Regions from separate parts of the Homo sapiens genome. Here region 1 is linked to region 2. Evidence: promoter capture Hi-C in human tissues and cell types (Jung and others, 2019). All regions are on one chromosome and are shown on one strand. The core of a region is centred on a gene start or on the middle of the fragment in contact, and the rest is flanking DNA. Distances in the headings are between cores, read along the strand shown.

What was found. The method cuts DNA at HindIII sites, captures the fragments that hold promoters and counts their contacts. A contact is called where the count stands out against the background at its distance.
Region 1: the fragment with the promoter of ZNF195 here is called in contact with the fragment with the promoter of CDKN1C in region 2 in 1 of the 25 tissues and cell types used here (IMR-90 fibroblasts).

What each region holds. Positions count from the first base shown.
Region 1 is chr11:3,374,697-3,381,642 of GRCh38, reverse strand. ZNF195 (zinc finger protein 195) reads left to right here and starts at 2,497. Exons shown (of 6, transcript NM_001130520.3): 1 at 2,497-2,605. The coding sequence starts at 2,603. It also overlaps the pseudogene TSSC2. RefSeq lists enhancers at 2,250-2,544, 2,233-2,796 and a silencer at 2,722-2,791. The HindIII fragment of the contact is 6,782 bases long and covers 1-6,326 here.
Region 2 is chr11:2,884,279-2,892,134 of GRCh38, reverse strand. CDKN1C (cyclin dependent kinase inhibitor 1C) reads left to right here and starts at 6,360. Exons shown (of 4, transcript NM_001122630.2): 1 at 6,360-6,501; 2 at 6,669-7,465. The coding sequence starts at 6,679. SLC67A1-AS (SLC67A1 antisense RNA) reads left to right here. Exons shown (of 3, transcript NR_169305.1): 3 at 3,500-4,791. RefSeq lists enhancers at 1-300, 4,863-5,698, 5,699-6,534, 6,535-7,370. The HindIII fragment of the contact is 9,348 bases long and covers 3,660-7,856 here.

The sequences.
Region 1 (6,946 bases), core at 1,248-3,747, 490 kb before region 2:
TTGCTCCTCTGTTGTTGGGCTCTGATTTCCTAAAGTCATCTATCAGCCATTTCCCTCAAATTATTCCATGTCCTTCCAAGAAGCTTCTGCAATTTCTCGAGGTGATTGATTATTCCCAATGGTAAACAGCACCATATGGGTCCAAATCTAAAAGGAATTCTGCCTCTATTGCAGAAGAGTTACTCTCCAGAAACTTGCAGGCCTTGGAAAGCTGTATGAGCAGTGCAGTCTATGCAGGAGTAAGGGCTGCAGAGCCAGGCAGAGCTGATCCTGAGTACCAGCCCAGCTGCTTAGCAGCTGTGGGACTTTGGGCAAGGTTCTTGACTTGGAGCAGTAATATAAACCTCTTCTGCAAGAAAGGGTAGAATAATACTGATTGCAGAAACAGCAGCAATGCTTCATTACTCTCTGTATCTATGCTCTTTATTGTGTGCTCTTACAGCTCCTCCCATCAAGAGGCCGAATGTGTTTCCCAAACTTTGCATCTGGCTGGCACTATTTTCTCTGGCTATAGAAAACTGTTGTATTAGTTTGTTTTCACACTGCTGATAAAGACATTCCTGAACATGCGAACAAAAAGAGGTTTAATTGGACTTACAGTTCCACATGGCTGGGGAGGCCTCAGAATCATGACGGGAGGCAAAAGGCACTTCTTTCGTGGTGGCGGCAAGAGAAAAATGAGGAGAAAGCAAAAGTGGAAACCCCTGATAAACCCATCAGATCTCGTGAGACTTATTCACTAACATGAGAATAGCATGAGAAAGACCCGCCCACATGACTCAATTACCCCCTTCCCCGGTCCCTCCCACAACACACGGGAATTCTGGGAGATACAATTCAAGTTGAGATTTGGCTGGGGACACAGCCAGACCGTATCAACTGCGAATATGACAGCTTTTGTGCTAGTTTTGGGCCTAGGCTCAAAAGGTCTTAAATGCTTCTGTGTTTCTCAGAACCTTGCTATCTTTATGAGATCAAGCTATCAGAACCTTGCTATCTTTATGAGATTAGCCAGCTGGAGGATGACATACCATGGTGGGGAGAAGGAAGGTGCCACTGTTGATAGCCATCTCATCCCCAGAAGCAGAGCCACCTAGTCAACCAGCAGCTGGCCATACATACATGAAGCAGTCCAGTTGTGACAAGAATAGCTCAGTTGAGTTCAGCGTGAATGGCTGATGAACTCAATCATGAGCTATTAAGTTTTCGGTGATTTGTTATGCAATAGCTAACTAATACATGCACCCAGGGCAGATAGGGTGCCAGGATTCAATGAAAGGTTGATTCCTAGTTACCTGCAAGAAGAAAGCACTTTATAGGTACTAATTCTCCCCCCTTATTTAAAGTTGGATCTTTTGTAAGATAATGTTCCGTCATACAGAAATGCATGTACACATGTATATATGTGATTGGTGCTTTTACTCACACAGCCCCCCAACCACGGGAAGAAACAGACAATCACAGCTTGATCATTAGGGCTAAGGCCAAATAGCAAGATAAGTCTGCCTCTAGTCTATTTCCTCCATATCTAAATGTTGGAGGTCAAGGCTATGGACAGATCTGAAGATGTGTTCTCTCCTCTTAGGGCCCCATTATTGATGGGCAGCAGTCCTCTACCCGTGGATATTTTCTTTTGCTTTCCCCTATGCTCTCTAGGATCACCATCTCGTCCACCCTTCGACCGGAGGAGAGATGTTTGTAGCAAGAGGCTGTTCCCTCACCTCTGGCTGAAAAGGGACTTTCAGACCCTCCACTTCCTGACATAAGGGAGGTTAGACCTCAGAGCTGCACTTTAGTGTGGCAGCTATTGATCATGTGTGGCTATTGAATAACAGGAATACAGCTGGTCTGAACTGAAATGTGCTGAAAAGGTAAAATACAGAGTGAGCTTCAAAGATTTAGTACCCCAAAATATATACTTCCTTACCAATTGTATATTGACCATAGAGGAAAATGGTTACATACTGGGTTAAATTATTACAATCAACTTCACCTGTTTCTTAGTACATTTTAAAACGTGGCTACTAGAAAATTTAAGATTCACACATGGCTTACATTTTAATTCTTAGAGGCTTGAATCCTTTTTGAAATTTCAGGCTGTCTGTTCAAAGGACCAAAAGCCAGGAAGGCCATAAAATATAAAAATTCAAAATGATTGTCTTTATTTTCTTCTTTCCATTGGTGAATAACATATATTTATTATTTATAAATAAACATAACCGCAGTCACAAGATGAAATGTAAATATCCTCTAGGTGGGGCCGGACAGCGCAGGCAGGAAGCCCCGCTCCAAAAGATCGCGGCCAGCACCTGTCCTTGCTGTCTCATTCGGCCCATTGTCTGATTACAGCTCCTGTCACTCAGGGCCTGAGGGGGCGGGGCGTGATGCCCTATCCAATCAGAGGAGTAGGGGCGGGGACTGTCCAATCAGGCACATGTCTGGAGAGGAGAGGACGGCTTCCGGGATCTAGCGGGGCCTTTGTCCCGACAGAGCTCCACTTCCTGTCCCCGCGGCTCTGTGTCCCCTGCTAGCCGTAGGTCGTGTGACCCGCAGGCACCGGGAGATCCAGAAGTGAAACGCCAGGCTCTCTGGAGGCCAGGAGATGGTGAGTGTAGGGGCCAGGCCTCCTGAGAGACAGGGAGGGGCGGACTGGAACCCGCGGTACCGGCTCGGGAGGAACCGGGCTGCCCGGGTGGGTTCCGGGCTCCGCGGACCCGAGGCCCCTCCAGCTGCACCATGGCGGCCGGGCCCCGCGCGCCCCGGCGCATCCCTGCAGAGCGGCTTTGGCCCAAGCCCAGAGCCATGTCCCCCCGGCAGCTCTTCGCCCGCAGACCCTCGTCTCCCCGAGTCAGGAAGGGAGAATCCCGACTCCGTGGGTGGTTTGTGCATAAGAGGATGATCTGTAGCCCGTGGGGGCCCCAGTCCCTCCTTTCTCTCGAGGGAGTCCTTGCAAAAATGTGAAAGAGTTTTATTTGAGCAAAGAGCGATTCATGAATGGCAGAGGACCCAACCATGTTTTTTGGGTTTGGAGGTCCCACCAGCCGGCCTTGAAGGAAAGGCTTTTATCAGGTGCATGAGGAAGCAAACCACATTCATTCATTAGTTCGGTACAGTTACGTCATCTCCTGATTTCAGCTATCTAGGCTGAAATTTTCTGGTCCTGTAATCAGAAGTTAATTAGAGGTTTGTGGTTGACGAAGCCTGAATTTTGTTTCTGCAAGATAGTCATTTGCAAGAAACGCATCTGAGTTAGATTTTTTTTTTTAACCTAAGAACCCAGGGCACTAGAGCCACCTCAGTCGGATTGCCTGCTATTTAATTATTATTATTTTTGAGATGGAGTCTCGCTCTGTCCCCCAGGCTGGAGTGCAGTGGCGCGATCTCGGCTCACTGCAACCTCTGCCTCCCGGGTTCAATCAATTCTCCTGCCTCAGCCTCCCGAGTAGCTGAGATTACAGTCCTGCACCACCACGCCCGGCTAATTTTTGTATTTTTAGTAGAGACGGGGTTTCACCATGTTGGCCAGGCTGGTCTTGAACTCCTGACCTCATGTGATCCGCCTGCCTTGGCCTCCCAAAGTGCTGGGATTACAGTCGTGAGCCACTGCGCCCAGCCTGGACGGCACTTTTTAAGAGATTTGTTTTCTGTTTGTAATCATTCCACGTGACAGGAAAGCAGAGAATCATCCCCTGACGCTATTGTAAAAAGTCTTTGTGCCTCTCCTCCTTTTTATTTTCCCTAGGCACAGACACCTTACCAGAATGTCTTTGGTTTGAGGTTCCACTTTGGAAACTTGACAGGGTGATTTGCTCTCAGCCACCCTCTGGACTTTTTCCTCAGTTTCAGTATTGTCCAGGGATAACACAGGATGCCCACCATGGCCATGTCTGCTGGAGCATCTAGTGAATTTCAGGCCCTGGGTTATTTCTCAGAGGACAGCCTGAGGTATGAAGTGTGGCCTCTCCAGGGAGCAGCTGGATGCCCTGGGCTGAGAGAAATCTCCTGGTCTACTCTTCCTCTAAAGAGGTAACCACTTAGGACATTAAGATTGTCTTCACCCAACCCAACTTTCAATCCCTGGAGACACATGGCTGATCAGCCAATCACATGCCCCTGTCAGAGGGAAAAGACCGAAATCATTTCTGCCCTTTGGACTCTCAGATTTGTGAAGGGAGACAGAATGTTTCAAAGAGCAAGAAAAACTCCACCCCGTGAGATGGTGCAAAACCTGTAAAGCAAAATTCACCTGGGACACTCAGCGGGGCACAGTGCAGTGTATCATCGGGGGTGGCCGGTGAGCACTTCGGTGAACAGGATGGAGGTGGGAGAATCTCCCAAGGAATAGAATAGCCTGACTTGACACAAGTCATTAGCTGTGTCTGTGTTCCAGTCGGCACTGCCACTCTCTGTGTCTCCTTGAAATAATTTATTCACTTACTGCAATGTTGGATTTTTAATTGTAAATTTACATTTTATCAGTAGAGCTTGAAAGGTAAGAAAATACTTACAAAGGACATGAAATAGGTCAATTTCAGGAAAAAAGTTAAATATCTAGTCATACATACCTTTTTCTTCTCCAGAGTGATTAAGGGTAGAAAGTTACTTAGGTCTGTTCTTTTGTGGAAGATGATTTCCAACAGAATCCCAGGGCTTAGCTTTGGGAATGCTACCAGGGAACATAAAATGCTTCTTGGATGGCTGTGGAGAATGTTTACATTTTCTACAAAAAAATTATGGTAGATTACTTGGTAAATTGCATAGATTCATCAGAACATGAGCTCTTTTTGCAGGATGAATTTGTTGTCATGAGTATCTCTGTTTTATATCCTGTTCTCTAGATGTCTGAGCTTAATGCTAAGTTGTAGGAGATGGAACTTAGCACTTCTAAAAGTGTTCACATGTGATTGTTTACTATATGATTTGTTATGGAAATAGTTAAATGACAAGTTCATTGTCTGAAAGCAATAAATAATTTTGCTTTTTCTGTGGAGGTGAAAGTGTAAGTGCTTACAGTTTCCTTTTCTTCTGTAAACTGTTTCAGTGATTTTGTTGGATGTTTCCAACACTGGGTATTTTCTTATTTAAACCTAAGTGGATAACCCTGATTGGGAAGTTGAAGCCCAAGAACAGTCATTCCAAGCTAAGGCTAATACTGAGTCTGCAAAAGAAAGCAATCGAAGGCCTGGCTCAAGCTTGTCCAACCCACAGGCCTGGGCCACATGCTGGCCTGGGCTTTGAATGTGGTCCAACACAAATTCGTAAACTTTATTAAAACATTATGAGACTTTTTTGTGATTTTTTTTTTTTTTCAGTTATCAGCTATCGTTAGTGTTAGTGTATTTTATGTGTGGCCCAGGGAAGCCAAGATCGGACACCCCTGGCCTAGCTAGTGCTTCCCAAGGAGCCTCCCCTGCGGGTGCGCCAGACTGCTCACAGCAACCATGGAAGGAGCCTTTCTACAGAGAGAAGCTGCAGAGCCCGGGAGCACTGGGGACCCACAGGCAGATGCAGTTAGAGTTGGGATGGAAGGAAGCTGGGGAGGACTTCCTGGGTATGGAATCGTTATTATCCTGGGGCTGTTTCTAGACTTCGTCAAATAAAATAAATTTAGCTTTAGATAGGAAGTTATTGAACTCTAAAGGAGGATTGCAACAGGGAGAAGGTAGCAACTATCATGGATCTCATGGCCATAGAGGGCATCTGTGCAGGGTCACCAGGAACTCTCTCACCAGCACCTGGAGTCTTTTGGACATTCAGGAGTGCACTGTGCAGACGGGGCTCAGGCTGACAAAACGGTCTATCTGTGCTTCTGTTGTAGAATAAGAGAAATGAGTCACCCAGGGTTTGTTCCTCCCCTCAGAGAAGAAACCTCATTGGTATCCACATGGGAATTACTCCAGTTTTTCTGGTACTTCAGTAAAAAACAAAAATGAGATCTGGAGATTCAAACTGATAAACTAATTGATTCCATCCTGTGTAGCCATTAGGAAAACAGAGAAGGCAGCCATGGTCCCCGCAAGCCAGAAACTTTTCCATTTCCAGTAACTGGATAAATCATTGAATTCAGCGTCTTGGGGTCAGCATGAAGAAGGGAGTGGTCAAAGGGACTTCTGCTTCATTTGGGCCATTTTCCTGATGTGGTTGTTGTGAGTTCTGATGTCATATTGAAGGGATATTCAGACAGACAAGGTGGTGGTGGTATTATTTCTGTTGCTTTTGCCCGGCTAAAAATAAATATTTAGCTTCTACCATATCTGTCCTAGAAAATCCTAAAGGTTTCGGTTAAATTGCTTGTTATTTTATGTTATAAAATAGACAAGGAAGTGGCCAAAATAGATTAAAATTATACAAACCCTGGGATTTAAATTTTGGGGTGGGGGGCAGTTTTAGGAAAAACAGAATTGTAAATACTCTAGTAGCATAGAGAGCAGAATCCTGCGTAGGGCCCTCTCCCTGCCCAGACATGCCCAGACTCTCCTTCTCTGAGTCTCATCCAGGTCTGGCTTCACCCTGGACTCTCCTCCGACAGAGTTAACTACAGAATTAAATCAGAGTTTTGGGTTTAGCTACAGAGTTAAATCAGTTTGGAGTTTAACTACAGAGTTAAATCAGAGTTTGACTCCTGCTGCCTCTCCGGAACTGATACACAGAATTTTCGGAAACCCCAAAGCAGATAAATGGGATCAAAGGACTCTCTATTTTGGAGCCTTAATTTTTCTTTTTTACTAACACCAGCGCTGTTAGAGACATCGTATCCAGCAAGCTCTTTCTCAGTCCTGTGGGTCTAATAGTTGCTTCACAAGCCACAAGAAAGTGAAGATAAACACAACAATGGAAAGTGCCTTTGCACTACACTTCATCCCCTCTGTATCCCTTCCATTGGTCTATCTGGAGCTTTTATCACTACACTTTTAAAACGTTAATGATAGGAAAATAGAAGAGGAAC
Region 2 (7,856 bases), core at 5,111-7,610:
TTGGTTGAGCATCTACTCTGAGCAGCCCTCGCCTGTGGGGTGCAGCCACCTGGGAGTGTGTTAACCTGGGAGGCCGCCAGGGCAAGCCTGCCGTCACCTCCTGGCCTCTGCGCTCGGTCTGGCCAACTGCCCTGGCTTCAAAGCTCAGCCAGGAGGAGGTGGAGAATGGGAGGGAGGAAGGAATGAAGGAAAGAAGGAAGGAGTTAAGTGTTGGGGGCTCCCCTCCTTCTCTGACCCTGGAGGTCAGTGGGGCGGGACCCCAGCCCAGGGCAGGAGGTGGCTTCACTGTCTCTGACTTGCTGGGGGACCCTAGGCCGGTCACTCCACCTCTCTGGGCCTCAGTTTCCTGCACAGGAAAGTAATAGGATTCAGAGAGGTCACGCCATGTAGCAGGCGCTTTTAACTGACATCTGAAATACAGTCTCCCTCAAGGCCTGGGAAGCCCCTTCACCCCCGAGGGCCCAGTAGGGGTGAGGCTTCCTCAGTAACTGCAGGCCCCTCCTCCTGCAGTGGAGGAGGGAGTGGTGGGGTGCATCTGGGGGCCCTCATGCCACCTCTCTGGAGGCATCCCCACTCTCTGGCATTTCAAATAGGCCCTGAGCTTCTCTGAACGCTGTGGCTTGGGTGTGGAAAGCAGGGTGGGAGGGAGTGGCTTGGAGAGGCTTTGAGGCCCTGGCGCCCCCCGTAGGCAGGAGATGCTGGTCACAGGGGTCTCCCCGAGCTCCAGCAGGAAGTCAGGGGGCTTGGTGGGAAGGGAGATCTGCTCACACCAGATTTGTTTTTCCTGCTGTTTCCCTGATAAAGTGAGCCACTGGGCCTGGGACCCCTGTGTCTGTGTCCTGTGGATTGGCAGGGAGAGGAGGAAAGGCCTGGTGGGCTCAGAGCTGGCTGCAGGGGTGTCTGACATAGGTCCCCACATGTCCTTGAGACCCTCCTCGGTACCTGCTTCCTAGCCCGGGAGCCCCCTTCCTAGCCCAGAAAGGCGCCGTGTGAAGCCCACGATGACCAGTGGCCCTCGGTTTCCTGGAACATTCAGTGCCGAAACCAGCAGTCTCAGGCAGGCTGGGACCAGGGGGTCCCTCTCTTCCAGACCCCAAGGGAAGCAGCCCCTGGTCCCGTTCTGGAGCAGGGGTGACTGTTCCCTATTCCCACTGGGCCTCTCCTCAGGGCCTGCCCAGCTCCGCCCATCGGTTCCTGGGGAGTGAGGACCCCTGGCCGGAACCCCCAGCACAAGGCAGTCCCTGTAATCGGAGCTTGTGCCGCATGTGGCCACGTCACCGCAGGGAGGCCGGCACCTGCGGAGGACGTGCCTGGCAGCCGCCCCAAGAACAGCCTGTCCTGGGGGGCGGGGCGAGCCTTGCGCGCGGGGAACTGGTGCGGGGGAGCTCTCCTGGCCCAGCATGGCCCCCCGCCAAGTGTGTGCTGAGCCGCCTGTTGCGGGAGGGGGGGCCTTGGGTTAATCTGTCACTCCCCATGCCCCTGGGGCCTCTGGGCTGGATGACTCCCCACCCCATCTTATGGATGGGAAGGTGGAGGCTCAGTGGGGGCAGGGAGCTCTGGGGCCTTTGGGGGCACAGCCAGTCAAGCTCCTGTCCAGGGCTGGTCTGAGGACCTGCTGCTGGGTGATGTGGTTTGAGGCCAAAGGGGTGGCCTTTCCAGAGTCAGGCATCCCTGGGCAGGGTTGTACCCTGCACAGATGCCCAGCCCTGGCTCTAGGGCTTGGGGTGGGAGATGTCAGGGGAGATTCCCAGGGCCCTTGACTTCTTTCTTTTCCTGCTTTCTTGTGCCCTCACAGAAGTCCTATGGAGGGGCTCAGGCTGGGTGAAAGGCAGGGCCAACCTCAAGTCTCAGTGACCTCAGGCAGGTGGCTTAACCTCTGGGAGCCTGAGTCCCCTCCCTTGCAAAATGGGCACGAACACACCTCCCTCTCAGGGGTCTTGGAAGGATTAAATGAGGCAACGAGCCCAGCCCTGGGTTAGGGCAGGGCCCTGAGCAGGCACAAGATGAAGGCAGCAAGTGTTGTCATTGTTTATAATATCCCTCTGGTCCTCTCCACAGGGCACCACCTGGGGAGCAGCTGGGGAGGCAGCCGGGAAGGGCACAGACACCTCTTGCAGGGTCCCTGGGGTGCTGTGGGAGGGTGGTACTGCTGAGGGCAGGCTCCGGGTACCTGGAGACTCTCTAGTGGGCCCTGGAACAGCACAGATTCAGATGGTGTCCAGCCCTCACCTCCTACCCACCTTGACCCTGTGCCTGCAATCCCCAGCCCTTTGTGATTGATGGGTGATATGGGGCCCATGGCTCAATGGAACATTCTTTGAGGCCTTCGTTTGTTTGAAGACAGATAGCTCAGGGCCTCAGAACCCAGGGAACAGGCCCGAGGCAGGTTTCACCATGGGTCAGAGGGGAAAGAAGAGCTCCCGGCCTGTCCTTGGTCACTCCCTGATAGGGGCCATTGGCCCACTGGCCGGGTGTCCTGTGTCCCAGAATTTGGGTTCCCTGGGGCTCTGGGTAGGGATTGGGCCTAACCTAGGACGGGCATTCCTAGCCCTGTGAAGCCACCTGCGGCACACATTCCTGATGGGGCCATGAACATGCCGACAAGGCAGCTGTACAGCTGCCACACCCGGGAAGGGGAGGCCTCGGGCAGCCGGGGAGGCACTGGAGTGGAGGTCACCCGCCAGAAAGCACATGTGGCCAAGGACATGGCTTCCTGGGCCTACCCTCGTTCTGCTACTCATGGACCAGTGTGTTTGCCTCTGGAAGCCTCTGTCTCCTCGGCTGTAAAGCGGGCCTACGACATTGACCGACCACCCATGAGGTTGTGGTGAGGACTGGCCCATGGGTGGCCCCTGGGAAACAGCTGGCTTAACGATTCCAGCACGAAGATCCACCAGGATTGGGACCTAGGCTTCTCTGGCTTCTGGGTCTTTCCTAGAAGGAACGCACAGCAGTGAGGGCTGCAGGTTAATCCTGCCTTAACTGCTTGGGCAGCAAGTTTTTCTTTTTCTTCTTCTTCTTTCTTCTTCTTCTTCTTCTTTTTTTTTTTTAGAGGGCGTCTTGCTCTGTCGTCCAGGCTAGAGGTAGTGGCACGATCACGGCTCACTATAGCCTCAACCTCCTGGGCTCAAGCAATCCTCCCACCTCAGCCTCCCGAGTAGCTGGGACCACAGACACGTGCCACCACACCCAGCTAATTTAAAAAATATTCGTAGAGATGGGGTTTCTCTATGTTGCCCAGGCTTGTCTGGAACTCCTGGGCTCAAGCGAGCCACCTGCCTTGGTCTCCCAAAGTACTGAGGGTATATAGGTGTGAGCCATGGCTGCAGTAAGGTTTGAATCTTCTCAAGCCTTGGTTTCCTTGTCTGTAAAAGGCCAACTGAAATCTACCTATGCCTTCCCTATGTATTAGGGTATGTAACGCCCCACTGTGATGGACAAGCCTACATTTCTAGTGGGTTAAGATGCAATAAAAGTTTATTCTTTGTGCCCAACACAGGCAATGCGGTGTGCAGAGGGTGCTTGGTGGTTCTCTCCTGATGGCCCCGCAGGGTCTGCAGCCTCCATCTGGCCAGCAGAGGGCGCAGAAGGACTGCCTGGGCAGCTCGGACGTGACCGCCTGGAAGTGGTGTACAGCGTTCCTGACAACGTTCCCGGCCAAAACGGGTCCCGCCGCCCACTTGTGTGCAAGATAACTGGAAAATGTCTTTCTGTGTGCTCCGAGGAGAATGCAAAGGCTGGTGGATGTAGTGCCTTTCCTCTACTGCTCTCTCAGCTGGGGGCAAGAATGACAGGACGTGAACATGCACACAAGGGCCCGGAACTCACGACCCCCGACAGCGGTCTCCCCCGCCCCCCCAACCCCGCGCTTGCAGGATTTAGGGCACTAGCACAGCACAGTCCACCCCTTGGGACTAGCACCCCCTCCGCAGTTCTGCTCTCTGCAGCAACATAGAGTACAAATATTGTTCCTTTTGTTTCTTTTTTCCCTTTGGATACATTTTTAATTACAAAAATAGAGCTTGATTGTTGCACCTAGACAGATGTTTGCTTGCTTCTGGGCCCATTGGGCCTCCTCTCAGAGCCTGGAACTCCCAGCCCCCAGCTCCTGGGGTGCCTTCCTCCAGGTGTGTCCCTGGCTTGGGCTGGGGGGACACAGCCCCGCTCCTGGGACGTGCAGGTTTAAAATGCTATTGGGTACCATCTTTGATCGAATTCAGAGTGACAGACTTAGAGCAGGTCACCTCTCAGCTTCTAACGAGGCCAAGACGGAGGAATCCCCACAGCACTGGGTTTGACTCTGTAATTAAGCTGGTAAAGTGGAAAAATAAAAGTAGGAAACCTAAGTGGAAACCAAACCAGAAAGCCAGGCAGCCCGGGAGTTCTGAGCCCTGCTTCCTTCCAGCTGTGCGGCCTCAGCGGCTGACGCGGTCTCTGCTGCTCTTCTATAACACAGGATGATGGCAGCTACACCCTCTGAGTGGTGTCACCAAGGCCAATGAGTCCTGATGGTTGGAGTGTGGGTATCCGGGGGCCTCTAGGTCACTACCCACTCTAGCCCTTTGCTCCTAGTCTCTGGGGAGGTGGCAGCATAGGGGCATGGAGCAGACTAGACTTTGCCTCTTTCTGCCCCCAGGCCAGTTGATATGAGCCCTGCTTGAGGGGTTCGCAGGGCCTGGGGAGCCTTCTTCAGCTTCTCTTTGTTTTCCTAAGATGAAAATTGTGACATCTGGGCTTGTTGCGGGAAATTTGTAAATTGTGCACAGAGAAGAATATGAAATTGCACATAAATCATGGCTTTTGGTTCCACCATCAAGAGCCAAGAATGGCCCTGGCCCCTCTCCTGGGTTAACGCCCTGTCCCATCCAGTTCACCCCCCTCACTTCAGATCTCGCTTCCCTGAGACCCAGAAGACCCGCCCTGCTCCCCCAGCTGCAGCTGCACACTGCCACAGCATTCCATGGGGGTGGGGGTGTCTTGGGACTCAAAGGCAGGCTGGTTGGGGTTCAGGGGACCGCACCTTCCCTCCCTCCCAGAGGTCTCTCTGCTGGCTCACAGGCTCACCTGAGATAGGGGCTTAGATCTCATGGGCTGCTGGACCCTCCAACAGGTGTCTGACAGTCCCCATCCCGATCTGGGAGGCTCCTGGTTTGAGGAGGGGGCTCCCTGCCTCATGGTAGGTGGGCCAAAAGGGAGGCAGCAGGAAATAATGGTCTCTTTTGGTCTGGCCTGGCTGGGGTGAAGCACCGTGTGTGTGCGTGCGTGTGTGTGTGTGTGTGTGTGTGCGTGCGCGCACGACCGAGGTCTGTACCAGGAAGGGCTGCAGGCGGGGGAGGGGCATGGTCCTTCACAGCCCCTTCCCCTATGACCTCGGGCAGATCTTTCACTTTTACCCAGTACAACAGCTTCCAGCCAGCCTGGACAGGCAGATCCCGGGGCTGGAGTGGTCTGGCCCAAGGCTGAGAAGGGCTGGGACCCCCGACAGTGACATGATGGGCTCAGCCCCTGTTCCATCTACTGGGCAGGGTGGGCCTCCGCAGATAGCGGCTTCAGACTCCAGCTCCAGGGGGCTGGTGGGAGTCTCTCAAGGTGTCCCACACATGGTCCCTCGGGGAAAGAGTGGAGCTGACCCCTGTCCCCCCTCCCGACTCGAGGGCCTTAGGGCCAGCAGGTGTGTGAGGGCTCCAGGCGCGCGGAGCCCTCGAAGGGACACCAGCCCAGCAGCAGCAGGCCGCGCGGGGGCAGCCGAAGACCCCATCCGGCGCAGGCCAGGGCCGAGCTGGCAGCGGCGGGTCCAAGCCTCGTCAGCTGGCGCAGGAGGCCCACGGGCGAGCGCGGGACGGAGCTGGGCGCCGGGGTCCGGACCGGGCCGGGGTCGAGTTGGGCCTGGCCGGACACCGGACCCGCCAGGAGCCGGCCCCTGCCGCGCTGGGCTGAGGCCCCCGCCTGCAGACAAAGGAGCCGGCGGGGGGCGGGAGCCGGGGGGGTGGGGGAGTGTTGCAGGGGGGATGGGGCGAGGGGGCGGGCGTCGCGGTGTCACGTTACCGCCCGCAGCGCCCTTTAACTCCCGCCCCCGCCCCGCTCACCGCCCCCTTCCCCTGCTACAGCGCGCTCGCCCCGCGGCCGCCAATCAGCCGCGCGCCCCGGCCGCGCGCCCCGCCCCGCCCCCGGTGGGTGTGCGCGCGGCCAATGGGCGGTGCGCGGGGGCCGGGCCGCGGCGGGGCGGGGCAGCGGGGCGGCCGCCAATCGCCGTGGTGTTGTTGAAACTGAAAATACTACATTATGCTAATCGCGGCCGGGCCCGCGCGCACGGGGGTGGGGCCCGCGCGTATAAAGGGGGCGCAGGCGGGCTGGGCGTTCCACAGGCCAAGTGCGCTGTGCTCGAGGGGTGCCGGCCAGGCCTGAGCGAGCGAGCTAGCCAGCAGGCATCGAGGGGGCGCGGCTGCCGTCCGGACGAGACAGGCGAACCCGACGCAGAAGAGTCCACCACCGGACAGCCAGGTAGCCGCCGCGTCCCTCGCACACGCAGAGTCGGGCGGCGCGGGGTCTCCCTTGCGCCCGGCCTCCGCCCTCTCCTCCTCTCCTTTCCCCTTCTTCTCGCTGTCCTCTCCTCTCTCGCTGCCCGCGTTTGCGCAGCCCCGGGCCATGTCCGACGCGTCCCTCCGCAGCACATCCACGATGGAGCGTCTTGTCGCCCGTGGGACCTTCCCAGTACTAGTGCGCACCAGCGCCTGCCGCAGCCTCTTCGGGCCGGTGGACCACGAGGAGCTGAGCCGCGAGCTGCAGGCCCGCCTGGCCGAGCTGAACGCCGAGGACCAGAACCGCTGGGATTACGACTTCCAGCAGGACATGCCGCTGCGGGGCCCTGGACGCCTGCAGTGGACCGAAGTGGACAGCGACTCGGTGCCCGCGTTCTACCGCGAGACGGTGCAGGTGGGGCGCTGCCGCCTGCTGCTGGCGCCGCGGCCCGTCGCGGTCGCGGTGGCTGTCAGCCCGCCCCTCGAGCCGGCCGCTGAGTCCCTCGACGGCCTCGAGGAGGCGCCGGAGCAGCTGCCTAGTGTCCCGGTCCCGGCCCCGGCGTCCACCCCGCCCCCAGTCCCGGTCCTGGCTCCAGCCCCGGCCCCGGCTCCGGCTCCGGTCGCGGCTCCGGTCGCGGCTCCGGTCGCGGTCGCGGTCCTGGCCCCGGCCCCGGCCCCGGCTCCGGCTCCGGCTCCGGCCCCGGCTCCAGTCGCGGCCCCGGCCCCAGCCCCGGCCCCGGCCCCGGCCCCGGCCCCCGCCCCGGCCCCGGCCCCGGACGCGGCGCCTCAAGAGAGCGCCGAGCAGGGCGCGAACCAGGGGCAGCGCGGCCAGGAGCCTCTCGCTGACCAGCTGCACTCGGGGATTTCGGGACGTCCCGCGGCCGGCACCGCGGCCGCCAGCGCCAACGGCGCGGCGATCAAGAAGCTGTCCGGGCCTCTGATCTCCGGTGAGCCCCGCACGGCCCCGCCCCGGCCCGGCCCGGCCCCGCTTTGTCCGGCCGGCCGGTCCCCCCAGCCCTCGGGGGCCTCGCTGGGTTCCCGCCTCCTCCCGTGGCATTAAAGGGCCCGCAGCGCTCAGGGCGCGGCTGCGCCCTTACCCCCCTCCCCGCCCCGTTGTTGTGCCCTCCAGCGGCTTCGCGCGGGCGGGGTGGGAGGCTGAATCCCGGCCGCGACCCCCCGGGAGCGCAGTTTTCGCCCCCGGCCGCGGGAGCCCCTCCCCGGGCGCGGCCGGGCGCCGTGAGCACGGCGTGGAGGGGGTTAAGCGCGGCGGCGGCCCCGGGGGGCTTGGCCGCGGGACAAGGGGAAATGCTTACACAGCACATTGCGCGGCGACGTAAA